3 separate regions of the Homo sapiens genome follow, and all the other regions are linked to region 2. Evidence: promoter capture Hi-C in 16 types of primary human blood cells and fetal thymus (Javierre and others, 2016). All regions are on one chromosome and are shown on one strand. The core of a region is centred on a gene start or on the middle of the fragment in contact, and the rest is flanking DNA. Distances in the headings are between cores, read along the strand shown. Region 1 has its middle 25 kb from the start of IFITM10. Region 2 holds the start of MRPL23-AS1 (MRPL23 antisense RNA 1). Region 3 holds the start of KRTAP5-4 (keratin associated protein 5-4).

Region 1 (2,700 bases), core at 60-2,559, 260 kb before region 2:
TTACAAACATTACCCAAAAGAAAGCAGAGGTAGTTAAATAAACATCAGAAAGGAAGTAGACTTAATAAAAGAAATATTGCTACCAATAAAATGAATCACTTGATAATTTCAAAAAGATCAATCAAAAAGACACGACAATTCTAAACTTCCATTCATCTGATAGCGTTGCTTAAAATACGCAAAAGCAAAGCTTGACAGTGGCAAGGAGACATAGACAAATCTACAATCAGAGTTGGAGGCCGTAATGCACGTCTCTCAGCAACTGATAGGACAATTAGACTGAAAATGAAATCAGTAAGGCAGGAGAAGATTTCAACAACATAATTAACCACTGGAAATAATTAAAATTTACAGCCAATAACTGGAAAATAAACATCTTTTCAAGTGCACATAGACACAGTTACAGGAACAGACCAAAATCTGCTTCAAAAAGAAGCCTCATGCATTGTTAAAGTATTGAAATGATCTAGGGAATGTTCCCTGACAATAGTAAAAATAAAGCCAGATACTGAGAACAGAAGGATAACTACAGGCCGGGCGTGGTGGCTCACGCCTTTAATCCCAGCACTTTGGGAGGCCGAGGCGGGCAGATGACCTGAGGCCAGGAGTTTGAGACCAGCCTGGCCAACATGGTCTCTACTAAAAATGCAAAAAATTAGCTGGGCGTAGTGGTGGGTGCCTGTAGTCCTACCTACTCGGGACGCTGAGGCAGGAGAATCGCTTGAACCTGGAAGGCGGAAGTCGCAGTGAGCTGAGATTGCGCCACTGCACTCCAGTGGGGGCGAGTGTAGAGCGAAACTCTGTCTCAAAGAAAAAAACAATAATAATCACTATAAAAATCTGAATGTCTGCCGGGCACGGTGGCTCACGTCTGTAATCCCAGCACTTTGGGAGGCCGAGGTGGGCAGATCACGAGATCAGGAGATCGAGACCATCCTGGCTAACACGGTGAAACCCCGTCTCTACTAAAAATACAAAACAATTAGCCGGGCGAGGTGACAGGCGCCTGTAGTCCCAGCTACTCGGGAGGCTGAGGCAGGAGAATGGTGTGAACCCGGGAGGCGGAGCTTGCAGTGAGCCGAGATGGTGGTGCCACTGCACTCCAGCCTGGGTGACAGAGCGAGGCTCCGTCTCAGAAAAAAAAAAATCTGAATGTCTGCAAATTAACCAAGTGTCTATGTAATCAAGGATTCAAAAAAGAAATCAGGATAGAACTCAGAAACTATATTGAAACAAATGATAATAAAACATATATAATATCAAAACTTGTAGGATATTTATGGATTTAAATTAATTCATTATATTATGAAAAAAGAAAGTTAAAAAGAATTATTCACCAAAGAGGCTGGAGGGAAAAACAGCAATTTAAACCCAAAGAAATTACAAGAAAGGGAATAATAAAGTTAGGAACAAAAATTAATGAAATGAAAAGCAGACACACAATGGAAAGACCCACAGGCAAACTTTTCTTTTTTAAATAAGTATATTGATAATTATCTACAAGACTGACCAAGAATAAAGAGAATCAAAAGTTGTCAAGAGTATGAAATAGGATGATCAGAAATGAAAATGTGGGTACAGACATCCAAAATGGAATAAAAATATACTATGAACAACTTTATGTCAATACATCTGGCAGCTTCAATGAAATGGAAAAATTCCTTGAAAAACATTACCAGTTATGAAGACTTAATACAGATAGTATTCCCACAGGAATGGAGACAGTCTGATGCTGCTGTAAAGTCAGATAAATAGACCAGTGGGACAGACTGAAGTCCAGAAACACATGCACCACGTCTCTACGGCCACCCAACAAACCACTGAGGGCCCCTGCAACTTAGTGGGGGAAAGATGGTCTTCTCCATGAGGGACATGGCAGCACTGGGACGTCTCTATGGGAAGAATAAAAATACTAACATTGCCCCGGAGTTGGTTCAGGTTCTCCGGCAGCAGAACCAGAAGTGAGAAGATCTCCATGTCTGTAATTTACTGGGGACATGCTCCTAGGAAAATGGGGGAAGGGAAGTAAGATTTCAGGAGAGTGGGGGTTTCTGTGCAGGCCCAGCTTCTGCCTAATCAATGGCAACTCTTGATCATAGATCATAAGTTTATCTTGATGCAGACAGGGGAGCTTGGCTTTGGGGCTCCAGCCGGAAACAGCAGTGACTAAAGACTGTGAAAGGGATATGAAGTCCAGATACAGGGTCTTCCCAAGTACCATCTCAGTCGTGGACTCTTGGAGACAGATGCACACTGAGGCTGGGGGTGGGGCACAGAGGAACAGTGGTATGACCCAAGCAGACCTGGGTGGAGGACCTACAGTGTCCTCAGCTCCCCCGACCTCCCACCTCACATCATACACAAAAATTCATCCAAGGTGGAGCACAGACCTAGATCCAAAAGGCAGAACAATAAAGCTATTAAGAGAAAAGCTTCATGACCCTGAAGTGAGTAAAAAAAAAATAAAGAAAAAAGAAATTAAAAATTAACAGGACATGAAAAACATCAGTCATACAAGATAAAAATTATAAATGGAATTTAATAAAAAATAACTTAGTTATCAGAATATAACATTAAGACAGTGAAAAGACAAACTGCAGAGTGAGAGTGTGCCTAATTACATTTGTCTGGAATGGTTCCTCAATCTTTCCTTGACGTTCATGACCTCGACACTTCTGATTATAGGCCAGATCTATTCTC
Region 2 (2,700 bases), core at 33-2,532:
TCTGGGTGGCAGCAGCAGGCAGGGACCTTCCCGGCGGCCCCAGTGGCTCCCTCCCTCCCAGAACCCTTTCTCCTTCCTTGGGCCTAGAGCTTCCTCCACGTACTTTTCCCCGCCCCCGCCTTTCCCCTCTCTCTCACCCCGCTCAAACATGCTGTGACCTTTCCAGGGCCCCTGGACATCACTCACTGGGTGACAGAGGTTGACAGGCATGGAGCTAAGGAATGGGAGGCAGGGCGGGGGCGGCCAAGCCTCTCCAGCCGCTCCCTTCCCGCTTGCCCCACAGACGGGCCTCCCTGGATGGTCCTGGGTCAGCACACACGCTCCCAGGCGCTTCCTTCCCCAGGAGACAGTCCCCAGCCCCTGGCGGCCCAGATCCTCCTGCTCAGGCCGACGCATCCCACCTGGGCCCCAGAAACCTCTTTGGAAAGGGACAGTCACCTCAGAGTGGCAAGCACTTAAAAGAGACCCCCAACAGGCCGGTGTGTCGTGGTGGCAGGCAGGGTGTGTCTGGAGAGAAGGGGGACGTGTCCCCAGCTGGGCCTGGGGGCGGCTCCGTGGGAAAGTCCCACCTGGTCCCAGCCCCGGGTCTCCAGCCTTCAGACTCCTTGGGGGTCTCTGTGGCCTGGCAGAGGTCGGTGGCCCCTCAGTGGAGGTGAGGCCTCTCCTGGGTCACCACCGCACACCGGCCTGCTGGGAAGCTGGGGTTCTGGGCCACAGCCGGCCCTGGACGTGGAGGGGGGCATCAGGCCAGACCCCCCAGGGGCTCACAGGGCTCTGGGAGGCCCTGGCAACCCCAGGGTGCCCCCAAGCCCTCAGAAGGGTTGTCCCTACTTGGAGGGGACCACACAGCCAGGTGGGCAGGAACAGGCACCACGGCGGCCCTTCCCTGTCCACCCTCTCACCAGTGGCCCGCAGTGCAGTCCAGGAAGCACCGGACAGAGCACGGGGCAGGGAGGGGAGGCCCGTACTGGCTTCACAGAGGTCTGGGAGGGGCTAGCCCCTGTGCAGACAGACCCCTGAAGCCTAGAGCCGCCGGCCCAGCTGAGGTCCTTCCCAGGGGCCATTCTGGGACCCCTGACCCCATGCACCTGTGTCACAGGGCTATGAGCGCCCCCAGCCCCAGGACCTCCACGTTTCTCTCTAGAGGGAAGAGGAGGAGGACGGCAGGCCTGCTGGCCCCACACTTACTGGTTGGGGACGCTCAGAGGGGGCAGCCGCCATGCCGGGAAGTTAGGGTGGGCAGAGGAGCAGCGGTGCCAGGACCCCCAGGCCATGCTGCCACCCCGGACCCTGAACAGTGGGCTAGTGTGTGGGCCTGGGGAGTGAGGGCCCAGGCCGGGCTGGGTCTCGCTCCATAAACCCTGGCTGGCCGGAGCTGCAGACATCACTGTTGACACAGGGGTGATGTCACTGCCGGCCAATGGGGAGACCCTCGGGGGCCCTACGTGTGCCTCTCTGTGCTCCCAGGGCCCCCGCCACGCACGCCGCCTGCTCTGAATGCTGCCTGCATAAACCGGTTTTTCTAAATGTCTTTGGGGCCCTGCTTGCCCCCTGGGCCCCATCTCCTGCTCATCCCACCCCACCCTTGGGCCCAGCCTATGAGCCAAGCGGGAGTGGGGAGTGGCGGAGAGCCCTGGGCCTGCCCGCTCCCACAGGCATGTGGGCCCCAGAGCCCTGACCCCTGCACCTTCACCTCGCCAGCCTCTCTCCCATCTGCCACGACCCCAGCTGCCACCATGGCTCCCCACAGTCACCCCTGGGCCGTCTCTTCCTCCTGTCGGGAGAATGTTCCTCCTGGGAGAGCCTGAGGCCCCCTCTCTGCTCCTTGCTCCCCCGTCTGTCTCCCCTGCCCTGCCTTGCAGCCCTGCCCTGGGTCCATATGCTCAGAGCTGGCTACATATCCTGTGGCTGCCCATGACACATAGCTCCCCCAGGCAGGGCCGGACCCCGGGCACCTCTTTGCCTCCAGGGCCGGCCCCACTCTGTTGGAGGTCAGCCGGTTCCGAGGCCTCCAAGCCGCCTTTCTACTTCTCGATTCCAGGGCCTGGTCTCCACTCCCTCTGGGCTTTGGGGTGCATGCTGCAGTGCAGCCTCCCCGCGCCCCGGCCTCCATGCACCCTGCTCGTGCTGCCTCAGAGGCTTGGCATCTCCCCCATCTTCCAGCCAGGCAGCCAGTTTTCTGCAACGTGGGGCCCACGGTCAGCGTCCCCCACAGCCCTGCCAGCCCTTCTCCCCGGGGGTCCGCCCTGCACCCCCTTCCCAGGAGCTTGCTCTGCACCCACTGCTGGGCCTCCTGGCCTAGGGGCTTGGCACGTGCCTGTGAGCAGAGGCGCTGGGCAGGAGGAGGAGGAGGAGCCTGCAGTGCCTGGCGCCCGTGTGTGTTTACTGGTCCGGCCCCAGCCCCGCGCCGCTCCCCGCGGACCCGGCCTCCCGCCTGTGTCCAGCCAGGTGTTGGGTGATGGAGCGGGGCTCCCTAAGGACAAGGAGCACAGTGTCTGCTTTCTTTGCAAGCACAGTGCTGACAAGGAACAGAATACCCACAGCGACTGCTTCCAGGAAACGGCTGCAGGGCGGGCGGGAGCCTCTGCGAGAGCAGCCCCTTCCCAGCAAGCCGGCCTGCAGGTGGGCTTCCAGGAAGGGGCCCCCGCTGGCTTCCCTCAGCCCTGGAAGGGGGCCAACGGTGTCACCAGGAGCAGGCCA
Region 3 (2,700 bases), core at 57-2,556, 370 kb before region 2:
GCCCCCACAGGAGCCACAGCCCCCCTTGGAACCCCCACAGGAGACACAGCCCCCCTTGGAACCCCCACAAGAGCCATAGCCCCCCTTGGAGCCCCCACAGGAGCCACAGCTGGAGCAGGAACAGGCTGGCACACAGCAGCACACAGGTTTGCAGCAGCAGATGGGCACACAGCAGCTGGAGCCACAGCCCCCACAGCCGGAGCCACAGCCCCCACAGCCGGAGCCACAGCCCCCACAGCCAGAGCCACAGCCCCCACAGCCGGAGCCACAGCCCCCACAGCCGGAGCCACAGCCTCCAGAGCAGCCACAGCAGCCCATGGTTCTGGTGGATTGAGGGTGGAGCAGGTAGAGGAGCAGATGAGATGGAGGTGCAGGTGTGGAGCCCCCTGAGCCTGGACCCCCTTATATCCCTGGGTAGGGTTGCTCTGAGACCTTGGTCACTCCATCATTCCCAGCACTTCCTGGGTATGTGATTATTTGTTTGCTGGACTTCGGGTTCTCATTGGCCTGATCCAACACCCACCTGCTTATGTTTCTAAATGTAGTCACTTCCTCCTTGGAACTGGACCTTGTACTGAACTGATCACCTGCCTTCTGTTTTCCTCATGTGATGGGCAGAGGATGGGTTTTCTACAAAGATCATTTTGGTTGTTTTCTTCCCATCTTTTCTTCCCACCTATGGCATTATATTTTTCTTTGAAACTGTGAACTTTGTGTGAAGATAATTTTTTAAAAACTAAGCTTTCATCCATATAATTAAAGAGGCTAATTGAGGAACCAACGTTGTATCTTGGTTCTGTCTTAACACATTGGTGCACTGCAGTGAATCTCTCCTCCGCCAGCCTCAGGTCGTGGGGTGCTCAGGACTCCTGGCTGCTGCATACACAGCCTCACGTGGTGAGTATTGTTTATGTTAAAAATCTCAGGAATTTCATGGGTGGATGGGGGATCTCATTTATCATCCTGTTGTTAATCTCTTCAATTAACTATTAGTGAGGGTGATTCTTTTACTCCAATATAAATTATATACTTTTTTATTGGCCAGGCACAGTGGCTCACACCTATAATCCCAGCACTTTGGGAGACCAAGGTGGGCGAATCACGAGGTCAGGAGATCGAGAACATCCTGGCTAACATGGTGAAACCCCGTCTCTACTAAAAGTACAAAAAGTTAGCCGGGCGTGGTGGCGGGCGCCTGTAGTTCCAGCTACTCAGGAGGCTGAGGCAGGAGAATGGTGTGAACCTGGGAGGTGGAGCTTGCAGTGAGCCGAGATCATGCCACTGCACTCCAGCCTGGGCGACAGAGCAAGACTCCGTCTCAAAAAAAAAAAAAAAAAATTTATACCTTTTTGACTTCTCATTACTGCTTTAAAAGTTATTTGGATATTGAGAGAACAAATCCCTTGTGTTCAAACAGTGTACTTTGTTTTTCCACAGGCATGTACTTGAGTTTAATTTCTGACGTTTTTAAAAGCCATTCTCACTTTGTCTTAATTGTCATTTTTAGCCTCGCCAACATTATTAGATGGTATAAAAATGAATGTCTTTCAGCCGGGCGCGCTGGCTCACGCCTGTCATCCCAGCACTTTGGGAGGCCCAGGCGGGCGGATCACGAGGTCAGGAGATCGAGACCATCCTGGCTAACATGGTGAAACCCCGTCTCTACTAAAAATACAAAAAAAAATTAGCCGGGCGTGGTGGCAGACGCCTGTAGTCCCAGCTCCTTGGGAGGCTGAGGCAGGAGAATGGCGTGAACCCGGCAGGCGGAGCTTGCAGTGAGCCGAGATCGTGCCACTGCACTCCAGCCTGGGCGACAGAGCAAGACTCCATCTCAAAAAAAAAAAAAAGAAAAAAAAAAAAAAGAATGTCTTTCAAGCTTGGGATAAAGGCCTTGTCTTATCTGGAAGAGGCGAGAGAGGGGTTATAGGTTCCGTCGTTCCCATTGCTAATGGGAGCTGTGGGGCAGGGGACTGAGAGAAACCCACAGAGAGGGAAGTGCCTGCTGTGCTGAAAATGGCTTCTTCCTAGGGAACACACTGGGTCAGAGGATGCAGCCCTGTGTGGCAACAGTTCACGCCTCCCGACTAGGCGCGGTGAGGCTGGGATGGGGACACTTCATAAGACCTGGATTGTGAGCACAGAGCCCAGGCATCCTAACAAAGCTGTCCCCCACCAGCCCTGCGCGAGGCCGCACTGGACATGAGCAGACCATCACGCACCCCAGGTGCTCACCAGAGCTTGGCAGCTCCGCCCTCAGGTGCTGGGTAAAGGGAACCAGGAGCATCCCATTTTGTTTCAACATAGGTAGAAGATCTAGACAGGATTGGCCAAACCCAAGAGAGGTAACATGAGATTCTGTAACAGCTATGAAAACAAACCTTAAAAAACAAAAGGAGGAGGAAAGGAAGGAGACAAACCTTTCTAAGCAAACTTGTCATCCGGGAGACAAAAGTAGATTTCCTGCAAATGGTTGAGTTATGCAACAAATAATAACAAATATGGCAGCAAATTACAAATATGGCATACTAACTTTAATAGGGCTCTCAGTTGAGATGGTAAAATTATAGAGTAAGTTTTATTTTGTTTATTTGTTTATTTTTTGAGACGGAGTTTTGCTCTTTCACCCAGGCTGGAGTGCAATGATGTGATCTCAGCTCACTGCAAACTCTGCCTCCCAGGTTCAACTGATTCTCCTGCCTC

The links. Contacts are between HindIII fragments. The CHiCAGO score rates a contact against its expected background, and 5 or more counts as called.
Region 1: a fragment that was not itself captured here is called in contact with the fragment with the promoter of MRPL23-AS1 in region 2 in 1 of 17 cell types (M1 macrophages); the score reaches 6.4 in M1 macrophages.
Region 3: a contact is called between a fragment that was not itself captured here and the fragment with the promoter of MRPL23-AS1 in region 2, in 1 of 17 cell types (M2 macrophages). The highest score is 5.4, in M2 macrophages.

The regions. Positions count from the first base shown.
Region 1 is chr11:1,724,539-1,727,238 of GRCh38, forward strand. No RefSeq gene overlaps it. Among named protein-coding and RNA genes, the nearest start is that of IFITM10, 25 kb to the right of the region's middle. The HindIII fragment of the contact is 2,242 bases long and covers 189-2,430 here.
Region 2 is chr11:1,988,638-1,991,337 of GRCh38, forward strand. It overlaps MRPL23-AS1 (MRPL23 antisense RNA 1), which reads right to left and starts at 1,283. Exons shown (of 4, transcript NR_024471.1): 1 at 1,189-1,283. It overlaps LINC01219 (long intergenic non-protein coding RNA 1219), which reads left to right and starts at 2,459. Exons shown (of 3, transcript NR_126400.1): 1 at 2,459-2,622. It also overlaps a transcript of MRPL23 not described here. RefSeq lists enhancers at 1-2,700, 1-2,700. The HindIII fragment of the contact is 17,986 bases long and covers 1-2,700 here.
Region 3 is chr11:1,621,776-1,624,475 of GRCh38, forward strand. KRTAP5-4 (keratin associated protein 5-4) reads right to left here and starts at 363. Exons shown (of 1, transcript NM_001347674.1): 1 at 1-363. The coding sequence starts at 318. The HindIII fragment of the contact is 1,135 bases long and covers 740-1,874 here.